Regions from separate parts of the Homo sapiens genome. Here all the other regions are linked to region 4. Evidence: promoter capture Hi-C in 16 types of primary human blood cells and fetal thymus (Javierre and others, 2016). All regions are on one chromosome and are shown on one strand. Each heading gives the region's core, a stretch centred on a gene start or on the middle of the fragment in contact. The rest is flanking DNA. Distances are from core to core; before and after follow the strand shown.

The links. Contacts are between HindIII fragments. The CHiCAGO score rates a contact against its expected background, and 5 or more counts as called.
Region 1: a contact is called between a fragment that was not itself captured here and the fragment with the promoter of MEOX2 in region 4, in 2 of 17 cell types (endothelial precursors and M2 macrophages). The highest score is 5.8, in endothelial precursors.
Region 2: a fragment that was not itself captured here is called in contact with the fragment with the promoter of MEOX2 in region 4 in 3 of 17 cell types (megakaryocytes, endothelial precursors and M2 macrophages); the score reaches 6.3 in megakaryocytes.
Region 3: a fragment that was not itself captured here is called in contact with the fragment with the promoter of MEOX2 in region 4 in 1 of 17 cell types (endothelial precursors); the score reaches 5.3 in endothelial precursors.
Region 5: a fragment that was not itself captured here is called in contact with the fragment with the promoter of MEOX2 in region 4 in 1 of 17 cell types (endothelial precursors); the score reaches 5.9 in endothelial precursors.
Region 6: a fragment that was not itself captured here is called in contact with the fragment with the promoter of MEOX2 in region 4 in 1 of 17 cell types (endothelial precursors); the score reaches 6.6 in endothelial precursors.

Annotation. Positions count from the first base shown.
Region 1 is chr7:16,054,920-16,058,032 of GRCh38, reverse strand. No RefSeq gene overlaps it. Among named protein-coding and RNA genes, the nearest start is that of CRPPA-AS1, 150 kb to the left of the region's middle. The HindIII fragment of the contact is 728 bases long and covers 933-1,660 here.
Region 2 is chr7:15,323,143-15,326,219 of GRCh38, reverse strand. All of the region lies in intron 12 of AGMO (alkylglycerol monooxygenase), which reads left to right. Among named protein-coding and RNA genes, the nearest start is that of AGMO, 240 kb to the left of the region's middle. The HindIII fragment of the contact is 994 bases long and covers 777-1,770 here.
Region 3 is chr7:16,095,688-16,099,031 of GRCh38, reverse strand. All of the region lies in intron 9 of CRPPA (CDP-L-ribitol pyrophosphorylase A), which reads left to right. Among named protein-coding and RNA genes, the nearest start is that of CRPPA-AS1, 110 kb to the left of the region's middle. The HindIII fragment of the contact is 1,919 bases long and covers 1,010-2,928 here.
Region 4 is chr7:15,685,326-15,688,777 of GRCh38, reverse strand. MEOX2 (mesenchyme homeobox 2) reads left to right here and starts at 2,095. Exons shown (of 3, transcript NM_005924.5): 1 at 2,095-2,892. The coding sequence starts at 2,376. LINC02587 (long intergenic non-protein coding RNA 2587) reads right to left here and starts at 400. Exons shown (of 2, transcript NR_110094.1): 1 at 326-400. RefSeq lists an enhancer at 2,899-3,452. The HindIII fragment of the contact is 6,486 bases long and covers 1-3,047 here.
Region 5 is chr7:15,306,254-15,309,556 of GRCh38, reverse strand. The region is part of intron 12 of AGMO (alkylglycerol monooxygenase); the gene reads left to right. All of the region lies in intron 1 of LOC124901592 (a long non-coding RNA gene), which reads right to left. Among named protein-coding and RNA genes, the nearest start is that of AGMO, 250 kb to the left of the region's middle. The HindIII fragment of the contact is 553 bases long and covers 982-1,534 here.
Region 6 is chr7:16,075,301-16,078,868 of GRCh38, reverse strand. No RefSeq gene overlaps it. Among named protein-coding and RNA genes, the nearest start is that of CRPPA-AS1, 130 kb to the left of the region's middle. RefSeq lists enhancers at 206-740, 1,067-2,266. The HindIII fragment of the contact is 6,394 bases long and covers 1-3,568 here.

The sequences.
Region 1 (3,113 bases), core at 47-2,546, 370 kb before region 4:
TTCTTATGTTTCTAACATTCATTCAATGTTGGCACATGTGGCTTTGATAAACTGATTTTTACTATAGTATAATTCTCCCTTGTGTGAATATACTATAACTTGTCATCCTGGTGATATACATTTAATAGTTTCATTATTTTATATTACAAAGAGTGCTAAAATGAATATTGTTAAACATGTTTTATGATTCATATTTGTAAGAGTTAACTTGAATATGCTCAATATGGTAAAATTATTGGCTATGGAGTATACGGTTATCCAATTTCAAAAGTTAATACAAAAATGTTTTCTAATGTATTGCAACCAGAAGATACTTCCACTTGTAATGCACAAAATACTGCATTTAGCCACATATTCTCTAATGCTTGGTATTTAATGATTTCTTCATTTTTTTTTCCATTTAAATTGGCTCAAAATGGAATCATGTTAAGGGGTTGACTTGCTTTCACCTGATTATTCTTTTGCCACTGGTTTAAAAATACTGGTTTTGTTGAAGTATAATTGCATGGAGTATAGTCATCAATGTTAAAAGCATAAATTAATGAGTTTGAAAATGTGTATAGTCATATAATCACCACTGCATCAAGATATAGATAATTTCCATTTCCAACAATTCCATTCTCTCATGCTGCTTTGTCACCAACCCTTTCTCCAATCCAGCCCCTGGGAAAACACTGATCTTCTTCTGTCACTACACTTGTATCTTTTCTAAAATTTTATGTAAAATGGTATCATGAAGTCTGTAGCCTTCTATGTCTGCTTCTTTCACATAGAGTGCTTTTGAGATTCAACCACATTGTTCATATTAGTAGTTCATTCCATCTTGTTGCTATATAGCATTCCATTACATAGATAAAACATAATTTATTATACATTAAATGAAGAGTGGACATTTGCGTTGTTTCCCATTTTTGGCTCCTGTAAGTAAAGCTTCTATAAACGTTGGCTTACGAATCTTTGGTGGGGATGTATGTTTTCATTTTTCTTGGGTAAATATGAAGCAGTGAGATTTCTGGGTGATTTGTTTATGTTTAACTTTATCAGAAAGTACCAGAACGTTTTCCAAAGTGGTTATACCATTTCACATTCCCATTAGAAATGTATGAGAGTCCCAGCTGCTTTACATCCTCATTAATTTTTTGTATGACCAATCTTTATAATTTTAGCCATTCCAGAGGATGATAGTGATATCTCATTTTGTGTGTGTGTGTGTGTGTGTGTGTGTGTGTGTGTGCGTGTGTGTATAACATGTCCAGATAGTTTTTCTTATTTTCTATCATGTTGCTTATATTCTTTATATATTCTGCATACAAGTCTTTTACTAATTATATGTTTTACATTTTTTTCCAAGTCTACGGCTTACCTTTTATTTTTTTGATGATGTCTAGTGATGAATAAATATTTTAAAATTCAATTATCAATTAATTTTTCTGTTACTGTTTTTACTTTTTCTGCTCCAAGGAATCTTTTCCTGACCACAGCTTGTGAAGGTCTTTCCCTATATTTTCTTTAGAAGTTTTATATTTAACTTTTATTTTGATAATGTTTTTCAAAATAAATTTTGTATATGCCATAGGATAAGGGTTACGGTGAATTTTTCCCTTATATATTCAATTGTTCAGCACACTTTTGTTAGAAAGACTAGTGATACAGTTAAGCTTGGTGTTCCCACCCAAATCTCAACTTGAATTGTTGTAATCCCAATAATCCCCATGTGTCCAGGGAGAGATCAGGTGGAGGTAATTGAATCATGGCGGCAGTTTCCCCCATGCTGTTCTTGTGATAGTGAGAGAGCGCTCACAAGATCTGATATAAGGGGCTCTTTCCCCTTTGCTTGGCACTTCTTCCTGCCACCTTGTGAAGAAGGTGCCTTGCTTCCCCTTCACCTTCCACCATCACTGTAAGTTTCCTGAGGCCTCCCTAGCCATGCTGAACTGTGAGTTAATTAAACCTCTTTCCTTTACAAATTACCCTTTATAAATTACTCAGGCAGTTCTTTATCGCAGTGTGAAAATGGACTAATACAACTATTGTTAAACTAAATTTGGCCTGAGAAAGCCTTTTTACTTGCATACTTCAATTCTCATGAATTGCAACCTAACTTAGCACATAAATAAACTGAAAACCCAACTTAGGAGTATGTGTCTGTAAAAATAGGTGAGCCTCAGTCAACCACAGCAGCTGTGCCTCAGCCAATCACAGACAAGCAACTGTTCAAACTGTGTTCAAATAAAGCAACTGCTGAGCTGTAACCAAATCAGCAGTTTCTGTATCTCACTTCCATTTTCTGTACGTCACTTTTCTTTTTCTGCTCAGAAATATTATGCAACCATGCAGCAACCCCAGTTTCTCTAAGCATGTTCTGGTTCTGAGAGCTGCCTGATTTGCAAATCATTTTTTTTTTCTCAGTTAAGACTCTGCTAAATTTAATTTGTCAAAAGTTTTTCTTTTATTACCCTTTTCCTATTGCATTATCTTGGATTCTCTGGTTTCTCTTCAGAACACATAAATCTTTCACCTTTTAATATTGCATTATCTTGGTATATTTGTTAAAAATTAACCACATGTGTAGAGGTCCATTTCTAGACTCTTCTCTTCCGTTGATCTTATACCAATACTGTGTTGTCTTGGTTATTGTACCATTAAAGCAAGTCTAGAAATCATGTAGTATAAGTCATTCAAACTTGTTCTTCATTTTCAAAGGTTTATTATTGTATTTGCATATAAATCTCAAAATCAACTTATTAATTTTTATTTTAAAAAGCCTATCAAATTCAAATTGAGTTGAATTTAAAAATCAAACTGACAGAATTGACATTTTAACAATACTGAGTCTTCTGACTCACGCAATAGTATATCTTTTCATGTATTTAGTGCTTTTTTTATGCATTATTTTGTAATTTTCAATGTAGAAGTCTTCAACATAATTTTTAAAATTTATCTCTAAGTATTCCACTTTATTGGTCATGTTGTAAATGGTATTATTTTAAAAACTTTTAATCTAATTATTTGTCATTCACATACAGAAATACTATAGATTTTTGTATATTGAACTTATGTCCTGTAGTCTTCCTATTTTACTTGGTAGTTGTGGTAGTTTTTTTGAGGTAGAG
Region 2 (3,077 bases), core at 24-2,523, 360 kb after region 4:
AAAAGTTAACTGTAAGTTTTATCATTTTCCTTAACCCCCCCTTTAATTCAAATGTATTTAATAAATAGAATGTGTGTCTTGAGGAGATCATAAATTAAGTTTTATATTTTTTCTAAGAGTAATATCCCAGTTTAAAAAAAACCTGTATCTATTATTTAATTTAGCACTGCTTCTAATGAGAATATTTCCTCTGCTTTATAAAACTTGGCTTAGTTACTGCAGTGACTGCTCATTTATAAACTTTTTTTATTCTTTGGTTTGTTTCTTCCTCTTGCTCTCCCTCTCCTCCTCCTCCTCCGTCTTCTTCCTCTTCTTTTTGTCATTAAAGGGGACAGAAACAAATTGCGAACAACCAAGTCAAGATGTCATAAATTGCTATAGTAAAATGTTGTATAAAAGCAAAAATAATAAAACTTCCTATTAAGATAATCCTAATGAAAAATTAATATACAGGGTTCAAAAATAATTGGATGACAAAATTTGGATGACTCAAAAGTAAAATGTGAGCTGATAAGGTACAATGCTATATTTTCAGTTTAAGCATTTTGCTTTTTACATGACATTTCTTTTAAAGTTTTGAGTTATTTTTTCTGTTTCAACCATTTTCCTTTTTGATTGTTTATATTTTAAAGGCCTGATGTGCTGTTGAAATAGAGTCCTTTTGTATGTGTGCATGTATAGGTGTGTAATGTTTTATTCTTCACCAGTTAGCTTGGATGTAAATTTTGTGAGAGAAGTTTGTTTAAAAAACAACGGAAAATAATTAAAAATAAGCTTTTTAAGGTTAATCTTAATCTGACATGCCCTTGAACGCTCACTGATTAAATAATTGCAGATAATATTATGTATTAAATTTTACAAATAAAATTATTAAATGTAGAAATGCTAATATATAATTATTTAGATATGTGTGAAAGTACATATTTGATATAGTGAATACTATTTATTAGCCTTTAATGCCTTCCAAGTAAAGTCACGATGCAGATATATAATGCAAGTTAATTTGGATATATAATTTAAACATGACTGCATGAAACTAAATCTATCTATCCAGTATATATTTCTCAAAACGTGAAATTAAAATCAGGTATAATAAACAAAGTTCTTTTTATTCAAATGTTACTTACCAATAAGAAACAATTACAGGGCTTCCTGAGGGGTTTTCAAAGCATGTTAAAAATGTTAGGTATTTGAATTTTTTAAACTCAAAAATTTTTTTTTAATTTTTAATTTTACTTTGGTTTGGAGTGGCCTACAGAGATTCACTAGAGCTGGGGTCCCCAACTCCCCAACCACGGACTGGTTGGTGGCCTATTAGGAACCGGACCACACAGCAGGAGGTGAGCAGCAGGCAAATAAGCATTACTGCCTGGGCTCTGCCTCCTGTCAGATCAGTGGTGACATTAGATTCTCATGGGAGCTCGAACTCTATTGTGAAATGCACATCAGAGGGATCTAGATTGCGCAGTCCTTGTGAGAATCTAATGCCTGATGATCTGAGGTGGAACAGTTTCTTCCTGAAACCGTATCTTCTCCCCGACACCGCCCCCCACCATCTGTGGGAAAATTGCCTTCCATGAAACATGTTCCTGGTGTCAAAAAGGTTGGGGGCCACTACATTAGAGGACAGACCTCAGGAGTGAGGGAGATGAGGGGGAGAAGAAAGGCAAAACCCTGGGGCCTCTGGCCATGTAGGGGTCTGAAGCCAGAGAAAAAAAGAAATCAAGAAGGCACTTCAGGACATCTAAATAAGAACAAGAAACCAAAGCTTATAAAGAAAATGCCTTGAGAGATCCTACTGTAATAGTAGGAATAACCCAAGATGGGCGCTTTAAAAGATAGAACATCAGCAACTAGGAGAGCTGACCTTGGGATCTGGAACTTACAGGATTGGGAGACAAACACGTGGGGACAGGGTTGCCTGATACCAACGTCTAAAAGTCTGAGATACTGATGCAGTTTTCTGTCTCAACTATGGCACACACCATTATTATTACTGCCTCTTTGTGAAAGTGAGTGAGCAGAGCCTGGTCTGAAGGCCAGTTTGTATTAGCTGAGTGTTGGGTTGCTGCGCTGGAGTAATACTGATGATTGTCTGATGGAAACATTGGCTTAAAGTAGTCTTATTTTTACTACGCTTGTATCTCTAATACATTGTTACAGCAACATATGGTAGTATATAGAACAATTACATAAATATGCACTTTAATACAAATTACAGTTTTAAAGAAAGCCACAGTTTCAAAATAGAAATGTCTGCGGCAAGCTTGAGTTTTAAATGTGGCTTACTCTGAGGTAGTAGCAAGAACATTGACGTTTCAAACCCTTGCTTGCAGTTAAAACAAGCTGAAAGCAAAGAAACACAGATTTGGCAACATCTCGTGTCTGTTTTGATAATTTCACAATTTAAAAATGATTAGAAAGTCATGAAATCATCTAGCACAATACCACGAGGCTTTCCTTGTTAACAGCTGCAAAGCTGCTCTGAAGCCCAGAGTCAGGAGGCAGTCTTTTCCATCCCATAGCCCTTTGCTCTGGCAAAAGTCATGCACTGCAAGCTCGGGAGACAGCTTGGAATCATATGAGAATCAGCGCGTTATTTTCTGTCTAAATATTATAAGAAATTGGGAGTGTTTTAGTGACCTACCTAGATAAAATTTTAGCAGTCTTCTGTAGCATGAAATTGTAAGACAAAACTCAAATGAAAAGTATAATGTTGACAATATCCCTCCTACCATCTCCATATGACATATTTATTGTATACACTGTATTTCTCCTCACACTTTATCTTTTATCCCCCTTGAAAGGAAGGTGATGGGATCTCTCTATGCTGGTTATTTTTTTCTTTGTCTGACTTCTTCCAATTCTTTTATATCAATGTATTAACAAAAATAAACAATATAAATATACAAACAAAAAGTTAAACAGTCAGAATTAATTACTATTGGAAATGTTTTCTTAGGGCAAATTGTAACTGCTCATGGTGATTATTCAATAAGCAAAATTATCTTGCTCTTCATCTGCACTGTGAGAAACAAGATCATTCGCTTATCATCTCTTTATATTGGAAATTATAA
Region 3 (3,344 bases), core at 720-3,219, 410 kb before region 4:
CTAGACACAGAAAATAAAAAAGACTAAAACTGTTGTGCGATGATTATGTTAATCAGTAAACCCAAGTGCATTTTCATTAGTATTATCTAAGTTTTTGAGAGGCATTTGTTATCACTCACAGGAGCAAGAGGAAAATGTTTCTCATTCGGAGGAGGCTGTTTTGTTTTTCTCACACCCTATCAGTAGGTGATCGCTTTTTCCTGCAGTTTTGGCAATTGACATACACTGAAAAGTTATTTTCATCTCCACTAGGGGACAGTGTGCCCCCGTTAGGTTTTTTCTTCCATATCAGCAAAATGTTTACAAAAAGAAAATTTAGCTTCAAATTATTTTGATTTGATATTAATGATCTTATAACAAGTCTGTTGAAGGTTTAGTAAGTCTAACACTTGTGGTTTTTGTATATTGTATATGGTACAGAGATAGGGATGTGTATATTTATGACTAGATGTAAATATAGCTAGTACATTTTTGTTTAGTGTTTGAAATTTTGTGACATTTAAATAATAATTTTTGCATAAGTTCTCCAAAACAAGGATGGAAGAAGGGTATTAATATCAAACTATGAGCAACCTGAATTTCAGGAGATTTTGTAACTCATGGAAATTGAATTAGGTTTTAGGTATGGAATTTGCTGAGACAATGTAAATGTTTACCCTTAAAGAAACATTGTGTAATCTCTTGAGACATCTAAAGCCTAAATACATATGCATACATTTTAACTTTATAGTTTTCCTTTTAGCAGAGTACATTGTGTTCTTTAGAAGTGATGTGTATAGAGGATAGGTATCTCCAAGAGATTTCCTTTCAGCTTGTCCATAAAGATTTAGAGGAGAATTACATCATAGCTTTTCCTGCTATTCTTTGAGATGGCATTCCACCAAATCCACATAAATTTGATTCTAACAGCCTACTATAAGTTTGTTTACACTTTTTAAATTCAAATGCTGATATGTGTGTAGTTCAATTATGGGATTTATTGTTTCAAAATATACTTTTTAAAAAAGCTTGTCAATATTAAGTACTCTGGGAATAGTTTCTCCCGAAGTTATCCTTTGAGAAAATTGAAAGGGACAGTTAGTAAGTAAGGATTTTTGAGGACATGGGCATCATATAAAGTTGACCACTTATACACTTGCAAGGTGCTACATATTAGTAATTTACATTACTTCAGCCTTTCCTTGCTCAAATTTTGAGGTGGGAGGTGGAGAAGGATGTAACTGAAGAGCCACTATGAGTTATAGAGGTGCCACTGTCATTTCCAATCTTCTGTGAAAATCTCCTGCTTTTCCTGATTTCCCACAAGTTTGCCAAAGGCTTAGGAGTCCCATCAAAGTTTCATCAAGACTTCACTTGATGCTGGATATAGTCATCACAAAAGAACCAAGTCAACAACAAAAAGACAAACGCACACAAAGACTGGCATGTGGGACTTTATTGACACGACTTCATTACTATGACTAAATTTAGAATTACCTTGTATGTTTAAAAGATAATGGTAATTAGAGCTCTTCTTTTGTGCATCTTTCACCCAAACATGGTGTATTTCATCCTAAACTTGAAATTATAGGTGGTAGAGAAATAGCTAAATATAAGTTTCTAGGTAAAACTCATGGTGAATTTTAATCCTAAATAATTCAGTCTGATAATTTAGAAAATTAAAAATGCATATATTATATTGCGTTTTTGTCTTCTAATAGTCTTAAAACACAGCTATTATGAAACTCTTTAAGATCTCAGTGAACAATTGTTACATGCTGGGTAAAATTAAGTACACTTTTTTTGTTATTACTTTTAGATAGTTTTCTTAATATCTAAGAAGAAAGCTAAGACTTTGTGAATTATTAATATGATTCCTTTAGGGGCCTTTTACTGAAGCCTTGAATTTTCAAGCAAAAAAGGTTTTCTTTGTATAGATTTTGAAAATATTTATGGAGAGAAATGCTCCCGGAATTTGGACAACGTTCAGTACTATTGATTTTCTATGACAACAAATCAAGTTTAGCTCCCTGAATTTAACAGTCTTAAAACTAAATTTTAAAATAATTTGTTTTTCCTCCAAGAATAAAATGTGTTCATTGTGGGGGTTTTGAAAATATAGCAAAGCAGAAAGAAGAAATAATATTGTCATAAAGCCATCATCCAAAAATAACTTCTGTCAACATGTTTATATTTTCCCGCCCAGTATGTTAAGAAAGCGGACTACTGAAGAGTATACTGTTTTCCCCCTTTTTAGCTGGTCTCTATTTTTGCTATAATATAGTTGTAACCAAGAAAAAGAGTGAAGCTGGCTGTAATAGTTCACACCTATAAGCCTGGTACTTTGGGAGGATGAGGTAGAAGGATTGCTTAAGCCTAGGAGTTTGAGATCAACCTGGGCAACCTGCACTCTACCCTGGGCAACAAAATTTTCTAAAACAAAATTGACACTGTTATGAAGTGAACAAGATGATAAAACAAATTTTTTTTTTACTATCTTCAAGATTGCTTGTACTGTGTTCTGCTCTGCCTATTCATTATAAAACTAGTCCAATTAATTCTTAATTTCAAGCATTTTATAATTGTAAAATTCTCTTTATTATAGATTCTATGTTGAAAATTTCCATTTTTCATCAACATTTTTATCTCTAGTTCTATTTTTTAGTGTCTTAGGCATAGTTATTTTGAAATCCTTGCATGATGATTCCAATGTATGTCTCATTTCTGGGTCTGCTTAAATTATTTTTTTCTCCTGATTATGGGTGTTTTTTTTTCTGCATCTTTGCTTTCTGCTTCTTTGCCTATCTAGTGATATTTGATACCACACTTTGAGTGCAAAACATTATAAAAGCTCAAGATTATTTTAATGTCCTCTAAGGAATATGAAATTTGTTCTAGCAAGCAGTTGTATTGCTGAATCAATTTGATCCTGTGGACGTTGTTGAAGCTTTCTTAGGGCTGGTCGGATTCAGTTTTGCCTTATACCCAGGCTGTAGTCATGGCTTTTCAGATATCCCAGCTGAAAGCCATGGGTGTTCACCAAGGCGTCTTCATTCTAGCTGGACTCAGATTTAACCTCCTGCTCCTTGGCACAGTGGGGCCTCAAAAATCTCTCCTCAGCTCTCCAACTTTCCAGCAGTTATTCTCTGCTAGGCCTCGTTGAGTTTCTCCTTGGGCATGCACAGTTAGGAGCTGGCCAAGGACTGAAGGAATTTTTAGCAGATTTTTAGGAGTTCTCAGCAATTCCTTCCTGTCAGGCATGCTGCCTGCAGAAATACAAGCCACTTTGACAGCTTTAAATTGTTAATCTATGTCTTTTCTACCCAGAGAGATTGCTATGCTCTCCTTGGGTTCTGTTTCTCTTC
Region 4 (3,452 bases), core at 846-3,345:
AGAGAAGCTACATGAGTTGGGGAAGTTTAGTGTTGCTCTTTGTACTTTAACTTTTAATATCAGAGCACATATTGAAACCATAAACACAATGAAAATACAAAAAAATATTCCGACGATATTGGAGGACTATAACTCCCCCACCTCTTTTTATTCTTAAAGAGCCAAGGGCGTGGGGAGTGGCAGGAAGAGATATTCTCAAGATCTAAGTCCTGGACGCCATCCTGCGAGTGCTTAAAGCCCCTAGAAACGTGCAACCTGAACAACACCCCTTTTCGAAGTCTAAAACAATATTAGATTCCCAAAATATCGGCAAAGAAAGTCTTACCGTCAGACTTGCAGCAGGTTTCAGCTCAGACCCAGACTGAAAAGCTGAGCAGCTGGTGAACAAAAGATTTAGTTTTTTTTTTTTTTTAAACGAAGTCTGCAAAACTAATTTCCCTCAAAATAGAGCTCAATTTCCGTTAAAGAAAGCAGCGCTTACAAATCTCAGAATTCCTGATCAACCCCCACTCCACCCCACCTCTGAGCAATAGAAAACAATTCGATCTTTCACACGGATGTTATTGCGAAGCCACTATTCTGCAGTGTGACTTAAAAGAAAAGAAGATAGTGAGGCTTAAGCAAGGGGACTGGAAGAGGAGGGGAAAGGTTCTGCTTTGGGGACACCTCTCAAAGATTAATCAATGCTTTTTCCTAATTCAAACCAGATGTCTAGCCCAGTTTGCTGTACCCATTAATCCCACTAACAACTTCAAAGACCTGGTCATCATCCTCTGGACACCTGAGACAATGAAAAAACGGGGCGACACTGCTGGTGGCGCATTTGGGGCCCCGGGCAGAATAGGTGACTACAGATATTCTCCTGATGCGACAGGTCGCAGATGGGACATGACTGTTCCTCCTGCTCATTACAGCGCCACTCACTTGTGTGTAAACGACTCTGCCCCCAGCGGACCCTGTCGCCCGCCAAGCAAGTAGCAGCTTCAAAGCCCTGCCCTCGCTCTCGCATGCTTACTAGAGGCGAGTTTTCTATTTTATTTTCAGGGGTGCAAAATTGTAACCAAGTGCCCACGGTGAGTGAATTTTGGGAGCTATCGAAATGTAAGAATTCTCAGTAAATGGAACCCTGGTGGTAAGGAATGCATTAGCGGATTTATTTTTGAGCAGAAGAGAGTGGATTTCTGGAGGAAACCGAGGAGATCTGGGCTAGCTCCTGAGGGGAAAGGCTAGAAATGCGCGTGCAATCTACACATCTCATATGACCGGGACACAATCGCTTGGAAATATTCTTGACCCAGGAAAAGTTCTTCTTGGTGGACAAGTGGCTAGGAAATTGAGCGGGACCGGGAAAGAGGGGGAAGGGAGCCTCCACCTGGCATCGCACGTGAGGATGCCAGGGAGCAGGCATCTGCAACCCTTTCAGACTCACGCCTTCCTCCCACCCACCCAACCAGGTCCGTCTTCTTTCTGCACTGAGAACCGCCTTTTCCAGGCCATGGTGCTCATCCCCGCAACCTCAGATCTGGCGTCCCAGCCTATTAACAACCCACCGACAGAAACCAGCTGCGAAAACCTAGGCGCGCTGCGGCGCCCGGGGCACGGGAAGATGCAAAGTTTGAAAAACTTCGAGGGTGCGCCAAACTAGCTCTGGTCTTTTCCTTTAACCCTATTACTTCTTTCGTGTTCCTGAAAGGATAGGCGTATCCCTAGCTTTTCTGCAGGTGACAGTTCCCAAATGACACTGACAAGTCACGTTTCCCCGAGAGGAAAGTGAGTAGGTAGGAATCAGGGTGCTAGGTTGGGGGTGGTGTGCGCCGCGCCCAGGCCTCCAGAGTCTGGAGGGCAGAGCTGCTGCCCTCCCGGGCGGGACTTAGACGTTGGCGTGCCGCTTGTAGTCCTGGCAGCCGGCAGTGCTGGGCGGGCGTGGACGCTCTACGTCCGTCCAGCAGGAGATAGGAAGTGGAACTGGGAGCGCGTGGCGCAGGCTGAGCGGGAGTTTTGGAGGGAGTTTGCATGTGGTCAACTCTGGGCTCCTAAGCCAGCCCCCAGCTCACGTTACACTCTATTTATAACTTCTCAGAGCCATTTCCCCCTGAAAGCAGTTCTCTGGGACCACCTTCTTTTGGCTTCAACCTCTCCCACTCTTGACATCTGAGTAGCTCAGGGAAGCTCTTCCAGGTCCGACTGTTCATATGTAAAGGAGACTGGCCGCTGGGGCTCAGGACCGGGATTATCCGAGCTCTGCAGAAGTGCACCGCTATTGCTTTGGGAGGTTAAAAAAAAAATCACACGGTTTCCAGTGAAAAAGTGACAGAGGGTGGTGGCCTTTGGAACCGCCGTGAAGTCTTCTGCCTGGAACCCGAAACTTGCATGCTATGGAACACCCGCTCTTTGGCTGCCTGCGCAGCCCTCACGCCACGGCGCAAGGCTTGCACCCGTTCTCCCAATCCTCTCTCGCCCTCCATGGAAGATCTGACCATATGTCTTACCCCGAGCTCTCTACTTCTTCCTCATCTTGCATAATCGCGGGATACCCCAACGAAGAGGGCATGTTTGCCAGCCAGCATCACAGGGGGCACCACCACCACCACCACCACCACCACCATCACCACCATCAGCAGCAGCAGCACCAGGCTCTGCAAACCAACTGGCACCTCCCGCAGATGTCTTCCCCACCGAGTGCGGCTCGGCACAGCCTCTGCCTCCAGCCCGACTCTGGAGGGCCCCCAGAGTTGGGGAGCAGCCCGCCCGTCCTGTGCTCCAACTCTTCCAGCTTGGGCTCCAGCACCCCGACTGGGGCCGCGTGCGCGCCGGGGGACTACGGCCGCCAGGCACTGTCACCTGCGGAGGCGGAGAAGCGAAGCGGCGGCAAGAGGAAAAGCGACAGCTCAGGTAAGGGCGCGCCAGGCACCCTCGAGAGTGCGCGCCGGGCTGGAAAAGGGGCGGAGAGATACTAGGGGAGATTCTCGCACTGGAGGGTGGCAGCAGGGAAGATGGGAATGTGTTGCCCTCTGTGGCTTCCTGCGGCCAAATTCGGCGGTGAAGCTTTGGTCCTGATATTTGGGGACACGTGTTTATTCGAGAGCAATGCGTATACAGCCAGCAGCTCTAAGCCCTCCAAAGTCCTAAACTAGTTTACCAGAAGGTTGATAAAAAAGGACAAGTGGCTGTGAAATCGATTGTGAAGCGTGACCTTCCATCCCAGCGCTGGGGAGGGAGGGGCGTGCGCCCAGGGATGCAGCGTCCGTTGGGCAGGCGTGCGTGCGGGTGCCGCTTCTTGACTTTTCTCTTGCAAGTTGCCGACTCTGAGTGGCTCGATTTTTCCCATCGTTAACTGGATTTCCAAATTATTGCACAATGTTTGGAACTTGCAATGGAACTTGGCAGAGCGCATGAGAAAAAAAAGTTTCAGTTTTTTTTTTTTAACATTCTTATTTCAGCGTTCTTTAAAT
Region 5 (3,303 bases), core at 9-2,508, 380 kb after region 4:
CAATGAAAACAACACCTGACTTACATTGGCTAGATGAGATCTTATGTTGACGCTTAGGGGAAATGGAGAAAAGTACATTTCAATAGGGCACTGGACTTCAAAGTTGGCTTAGTTTTATCCCACCCAGAAAGTTTGTTTTATAACTCTTTTGATACATTTGAAGATTCTCACAACACAGAGAGCTGTTAAGAATGTATAAAGTATTTCCCCTCTGCTGATCATCTTTTTTATTGGTACCTACTCAAAAATTTGGAGATGTACTCCTATGGAAAAAAAATGTTGGCCCTACTCAGCTTGCCTGTCTGTAAAACTGCTCAGTAAGGATAACGATAGTTCTTCATTACGTGTGCCTGTAGTTGCAATTAAGATGTTCCCCCAAAGGATTTTTAGCAGGGCTTGTCTTCCTATAAAGGCCATGTCTCTTTCATACTGAGTGTTTAATGAATAACTAGTCTAAGGAACTATTGCTGATGAACTATTGCTTGATGTGGCTGATGGAGCAAATGGTTTCAGCCCAGTGCCTGAATACTTGGGATAATTGCATGAGTAGTAAAGTTGCTTACCATTAACAAATAGTAAGCGTTTAAGTTGTGAATTCAAACCAAATCACTCCATTTGACCAACCACAAGTCTGGACTTTGAAGTCTAACAAATTGGATTGAATCTGTTTTACCATACATTGACTGAATGTGTTTAGGTAAATTATTTAACCATTGCGAAACTTTGTTTCTTTATCCACAATATGTAAAAAACACTGGTGGCTTCCAAGAGTTATGTGAAGGCCTTTGAGAATTATAAAACATAACACATTAGTTGTTATATTTTCATTATATGTGCTGTAATAATATATCAACAGATACAGGAAAATCCAAGAGCTTTGGTTACAGAAAAGTTTTAAGTGGTTTCATTGTTTAACATTTTGGTGAAACATTGCTCTGGTGAAAAATAATTTAAAGGCATAAATCTTGTTTTTAGAAAGCTTACAGTAAATTGAGACAAACAAATGAGACAAGCAAATATGACAAGCAAATGAGTTAATACAAGCAAATGAGACAACAAACAGTTACTGTGCATAGTGAAAAACACCATGATGTAGGTAGATAGTAAGCAAACGCTGTAAGAGTATAGAGGTGAAATCTGACATTGGCAGGTCAGAAAAGTCTTCTCAAATGAGGTGAATGAGCAAAACCTTAAAAAAGAAGTGTGGGGGTAAGGTCAGTAGTGAAAGGAACAAGGATAAATTTTTAAATAGGAAAAAATATGCAAATTTATAACAAATTATTTATATTCAGAGAGTAACCAAGGATTTGGATTGATGGTGCTTGTGTGAGGGGTAAAAGTCTGATTGTTAAGGGATGAACATACAGGATAAGCAGAATTTACTCCATTCTGAAATTAGAACAGACATACTTTAAATAAAGAAATGACATAAATAGATTTGCTCTTTTGGAAATGTTTCCTGGCAGCCTGTGGGTAATGGATGGAAAACTGAAGGGGTGTAGTGAGGACCAGCAAGCCTGGAGGTATTGAAGCTTGTGGGGAAATTCCAGGTATTTAGAAAGTGGGGAGAGAATAGAGTTAGGTCAAACCATTAGGCGTTAGGAACTAATAGGATTGACAAGAGAGAGACATAAAATAAAAACTCCATCACACTTGTTTACTGATTGCTCAGAGGTGGGATATGAAGGAGGTATGGGTCTTATTTAGTCTTGTAAATTTCTGAATTGGTGAGTCCATATTTGCACTGAGATGGAGACCCAGGAAAAGGCAAAGATCTGAAAGGAGAGATACTGAGTTTGTTTGTGGGCATGTTTACTGTGAGATATCCAAATCTCAGTTGCAAATCTGTAACTTAGGAAACTAGGTGAGAGCTGGAGGTGTAAATTTGAGTGTCAGTTTGAAGATAGTAATTGAAACTATATGCATAGAAGCAATCACCTTGGGAAATGTTTTATTGTTCCTTGCTTTAATACAATTATATGATTAGGTAATTATAGTGTCCTTCTTATAGGCTTCATAAGAAAAAAAAAACTAGTATACTTTACTGATTTATTTCAGAACATCCTTACTAGTTTTAAAACAAATCAACTAGAGTCCTGTTCTTTTAGAGTTTAATTGATTAGCCCATCTAAATAAAGTTTTATTCACCACTGGCACTGTCACTTTTAGATTAAATATTTTGAACTATATTTATAAGTAATGGTAAATGCCTATTTTAACTTTTTACCATGTGATAAAATTGGTGATTCAAGGTTTCTTCCAAATAGATGGGCTTGGCTTTTGAAGACAAGTCATGTCAAACAAGGATTCCCACGTTTTATGGCCGCAGAACAGTCTGTCATAAGGGAATATAAATTATGTCCTCACCTCTCACAAGACTGTTAACAACTAGATAACTAGACTGGATAATAAGATATTGTAATATATGAATGTCATCATCATTACTAGTAGATTTGTCCTATTAGTGATGGGTGAACTGCAAAATTACAAATGGAAACTTATTTTTTGGAATCACTTTATAATTATTTCGTTTTTGAATAATTTTAAGTGTAGATCTTTGTACAACTTTCTATATTAAAATTCACCAAAATTCAGTATGCTTTAATGATTATTTCTCATGATTGTAACGTATGCATTTAATATTGCAAACTATTTTATACAAAGAGTTCATTACCTCTGTTATGATTATAACTTATTGTAATAATATTTTATACACTAACTGAATAATTTATGTTTCTCCAACAGCCCTTTCCAATGTGGCATACTTAGCATAATAAAGTAGAAATCTTAGTTTAGGGACATATTCCTCAGCCTATAAGAACTAGTACAATCTAAAATAGTAGGTGAAAACTTAAATTGTGCTAATTCTAAACATTAAAATCTAACTATTTGAAGCATTAACAATCCTTAATAGTGCCATAAACCATATTAACTTTTTAGCAAGGTAACACAAATTGCCATATTTTGTAATGCTTTTTTTTTTTTACACAGTCATATTCTGTTATAAGTGAAATTGGGCTCCAGGCCAAGGAGAACTTTGGAGAACTTTTAAGTTTGAGTGACTGTCTCACAGCTGGAAACCACCCCAAAGTGCATTGATTGCAGAAGAATATGTTTCCTATTATCCAGTTCTCTACCAAACTATTTTTTTGTAGCTTGAAAATAATAAAGATTTTGTAAGCCCCAAGGGGTCTTTTTGATCCATGAATGAAGTTACCCTGGATTCATATAACTAAAATCTGACTTCCTTTCAGCCATTGAAATTCAAAACCCTTTCCATTTATTAGTATGAAATAAAAAAAG
Region 6 (3,568 bases), core at 648-3,147, 390 kb before region 4:
TAAAATTCACAATATTTACATAATATGTAAATATTTACACAATATGTAAATATTTACACAATATGTAAATATTTACACAATATGTAAATATTTACACAATATGTAAATATTTACATAATATGTAAAATATGTAAATATTTGTAAAATACTGTGTAAAATATGTAAATATTTACATAATATGTAAAAATTCACAATATTTACATAATATTGTGAATTAGAGTCAATATTTACATAATATAGCTGATTTGTTTTGGTAATTTTACTTCTTAGGCTCTGTTATTGTGATAATCTGTGATTTTTATTTAAAGTTGGGCACTTAAATGTATGGGAATTTAACATTCTCATACAAAGAAAGGGAAAAGGACAGAAAGGAAGGAAGTCAGTTGTCAAGCCATTCATGAATGGCCCCCAGCACCTGATCAAATGAGTACTGATGAAAAATACTTAAAGCCCTGTGGCAACTGGCGTTTGTGACAGGCTTTTAAAATACACACTCTCCTTTGAAGTTCACCTTTTTTCTTCAGGTCTTTCCTGAGGGACACAAAGAATTCAAACAAACACTAGAAATCCTCTTCATGTATCTGCTGCTTTAATGGAAACTAAGCTCCACCTGGTGGTAGAATGGGTTTTTTGTCTTTGGACTTCGGCATGTCCACTGAGATGCATTCAGCAGGGAAACAAAATCTGTATACATCTAAACATACGCATACATTGATGTGTTATGTATGTGTGATTTTCAGATGTTGTCACAAAAGTTGTGAATTATGCTTATTCTTGTGCTTTATTGGCATTTAAAGCAAGGCATTCAGCATTTGCTTACTATCAATGTCTCATGATGTTCAGGCTCTCAGCAGTGACCAGAATGATCTTACTGTGATAATCACAAAATCTTGCCTCTGTTTCATGTTAAGATTGTTTTCAAAAGGATTTGACTTACACTTTGATAGTAATAGTAGTTTATGACTAATAAAAATGGAGAAATGCTTGAAAATATTAACTCAAGTAATAGTGCTGGTTAGTACAACTCTTAATACGTGACTATGTCTTTTCTCTCTCTCATATAAGAGCATTATTGTGTTGAGTGACAGAAGTTTGTAACATTTAGCTTTATAGGAACTAGAAGCCCTCCAGCTGGATTTAGCCCACAGATCTGTTGTCAGATCTGTGTTAAAAATACAAAATAGGTGTTTACATTTGCAAATTGGGGCATTTCATAAAAATGCAGCCATCTAGCAATGACGGGCCTTTTTCTTTTACTGAAACACTGTCTGTTCTGTCACACAGGCTGGAGTGCACTGGTGTGATCTCAGCTCTCTGAAGCCTCAACCTCCTGGAGCTCAAATGATCCTCCCACCTCAGGCTCCCAAGTGTCTGGGACTACAGGAGCCTGTCATTACACCTGGCTAATTTTTGTATTTTTTATAGAGACAAGGTTTTGCCGTGTCGCCAGGCTGGTTTCAAGCGACCCTCCTACCTTTGCCTCTCAAACTGCTGGGATTACAGGCATGTGCCAATGCGCCCGGCCAGGGGATCTTTTTCCTTCAAGGCAAGTGACCTCAACCTGAAGAGTAGCTAGCCTTTTAAGAAGCGGCACTGATATGGTCAGGTTTTTTGTCCCCATCCAAATCTCATCTTGAATTGTAATCCCCATAATCCCTACAGGTCAAGGGAGAGACCAGGTGGAGGCAATTGAATCATAGCCCAGGTGGAGGCAATTGAATCATAGCCCAGGTGGAGGCAATTGAATCACAGACCAGGTGGAGGCAATTGAGTCACAGGCGTGGTTCCCCCCAGTCTGTTCTCACGATAGTGAGTTCTCACGAGATTGACGGTTTTATAAGGGGTTCTTTCCCATTTCACTCAGCGCTTCTCCTTCTTGCCGCCTTCTGAAGGAGGTGTCTGCTTTGCTTTCCGCCATGATTGTAAGTTTCCTGAGGCCTCCCCAGCCATGCTGACTGTGAGTCAATTAAGCCTCTTTCCTTTATAAATTATCCAGTCTCAGGCAGTTCTTACAGCAGTGTGAGAATGGACTAATACAGGCACAAACTCTTATTATCCGCAGGCCCATCTACCCCTTGAGGTAACACACACTGCCTTCTTCACTCATTATTGCCTGATTTCTGTAGTCACTCACATTTATGACCACTGTATTTTATTTATAATGTCTCTCTGAGAAATTTTTAGTTTAGCACAAGGAGAAAATGAAATGAGTTAATAACCATCAAAAATATGAAAGAAAACCACCCAAATGGTATTCAATTGCTTTCTCTATAGTTTTTCACAACGGCCCAGTGGTGCAGTAGGTATATTTCAAATAGTATGATAGATATTTAATTAAATTTGTATTGTTTTAAGCCACCAGGTTTGTGGTAATTTGTTATGGCAATAATAATAATAATAAACTAATACACCAGCAAAGAGAAGTTTTGAAGTTTGCTTCCTGAAGTTCTTATGAGAATATTTTTTCAATATGTAAAATTATAATACTAAGCATGCAAACTGCCTACCATTCCCTTCCTTGTGCTACCTATTCCCTTGAGAATTACTTTTCTAATCCTTCCCTACCCCTGTATAGCAGGGAGAGAAGGTCATGGTTAAAGAACTGTACTTCTGTAGCATGGCAAGGAGGGCAGGCCATGGCAAATAGGAGAACTGTGGTAAGAGCTAATCATAGGGAGGAGGTTTCAAAAGATAAACTTTCTTTTTCCTGAAGATTGCCATAGTCTCTGGATAGATTAAGTAGATGTTTAAAATGACATATGGATATGTTCTCGAAGTAGTAGAAGTGATTTTGCTCATAGTTTTTCTAGTGTGATAGAAAGGCCATATCTACTGGTGTCCAGGTTCAGACTCATAGTATGTAGATTATTGAGAATAAAGTAGGTTAAAGGGATTGAGGAGAAAGCATAGTTAATTGATCTGTAGTGGGGAAGTGGGAATTAATTGAGAGAGTTTAGATATCAAGATACTGAGAATTTGTAAATAGAACTGGATTTAAATGTATATCAAATATTTACATGTAAATACATTGCAGAATGTTCTCTCCAATTTGGAAATGCTCCTTTTATAGCAAAAAGCAGTCTGAGTCAATACTCTTCCAGCTTTATTATGGATATAATATTTAGAAAATAAAAGCATAAATTTGTGTAGCCTTTCCAGGCCCCTGCAGATGACCACCTTAAGAAGAGAGAGTACATTTTAACCATAATCACTTTGTTCACATTATTGCTGTTTCTTCTCTGAGATGCATGATATTTGTTAGCAAGACCTTTCTGTTGCTTTTGAATGACAGAAAACTACTGAACCACCTTGCAACCTACTAAGAGAATGATACTTTAAAATGTTTCCATGAGATTATGGCACTGTAAGACCCCTTTGCCGTCTGTATACTATCACTGATAAGCACACTGACTGTCAGGTATGTGATGGTGTAGGGGGGATGATGCAGTTACACATATTCACAGTCAAGCCTCCAGATGCAGAAATTCATGGAAATAGACCTCACAGTTGGCTACTCCTGAGAATATGCCGGATTTGCACAGAGAAGTCCAGGGATACTAACTATGCT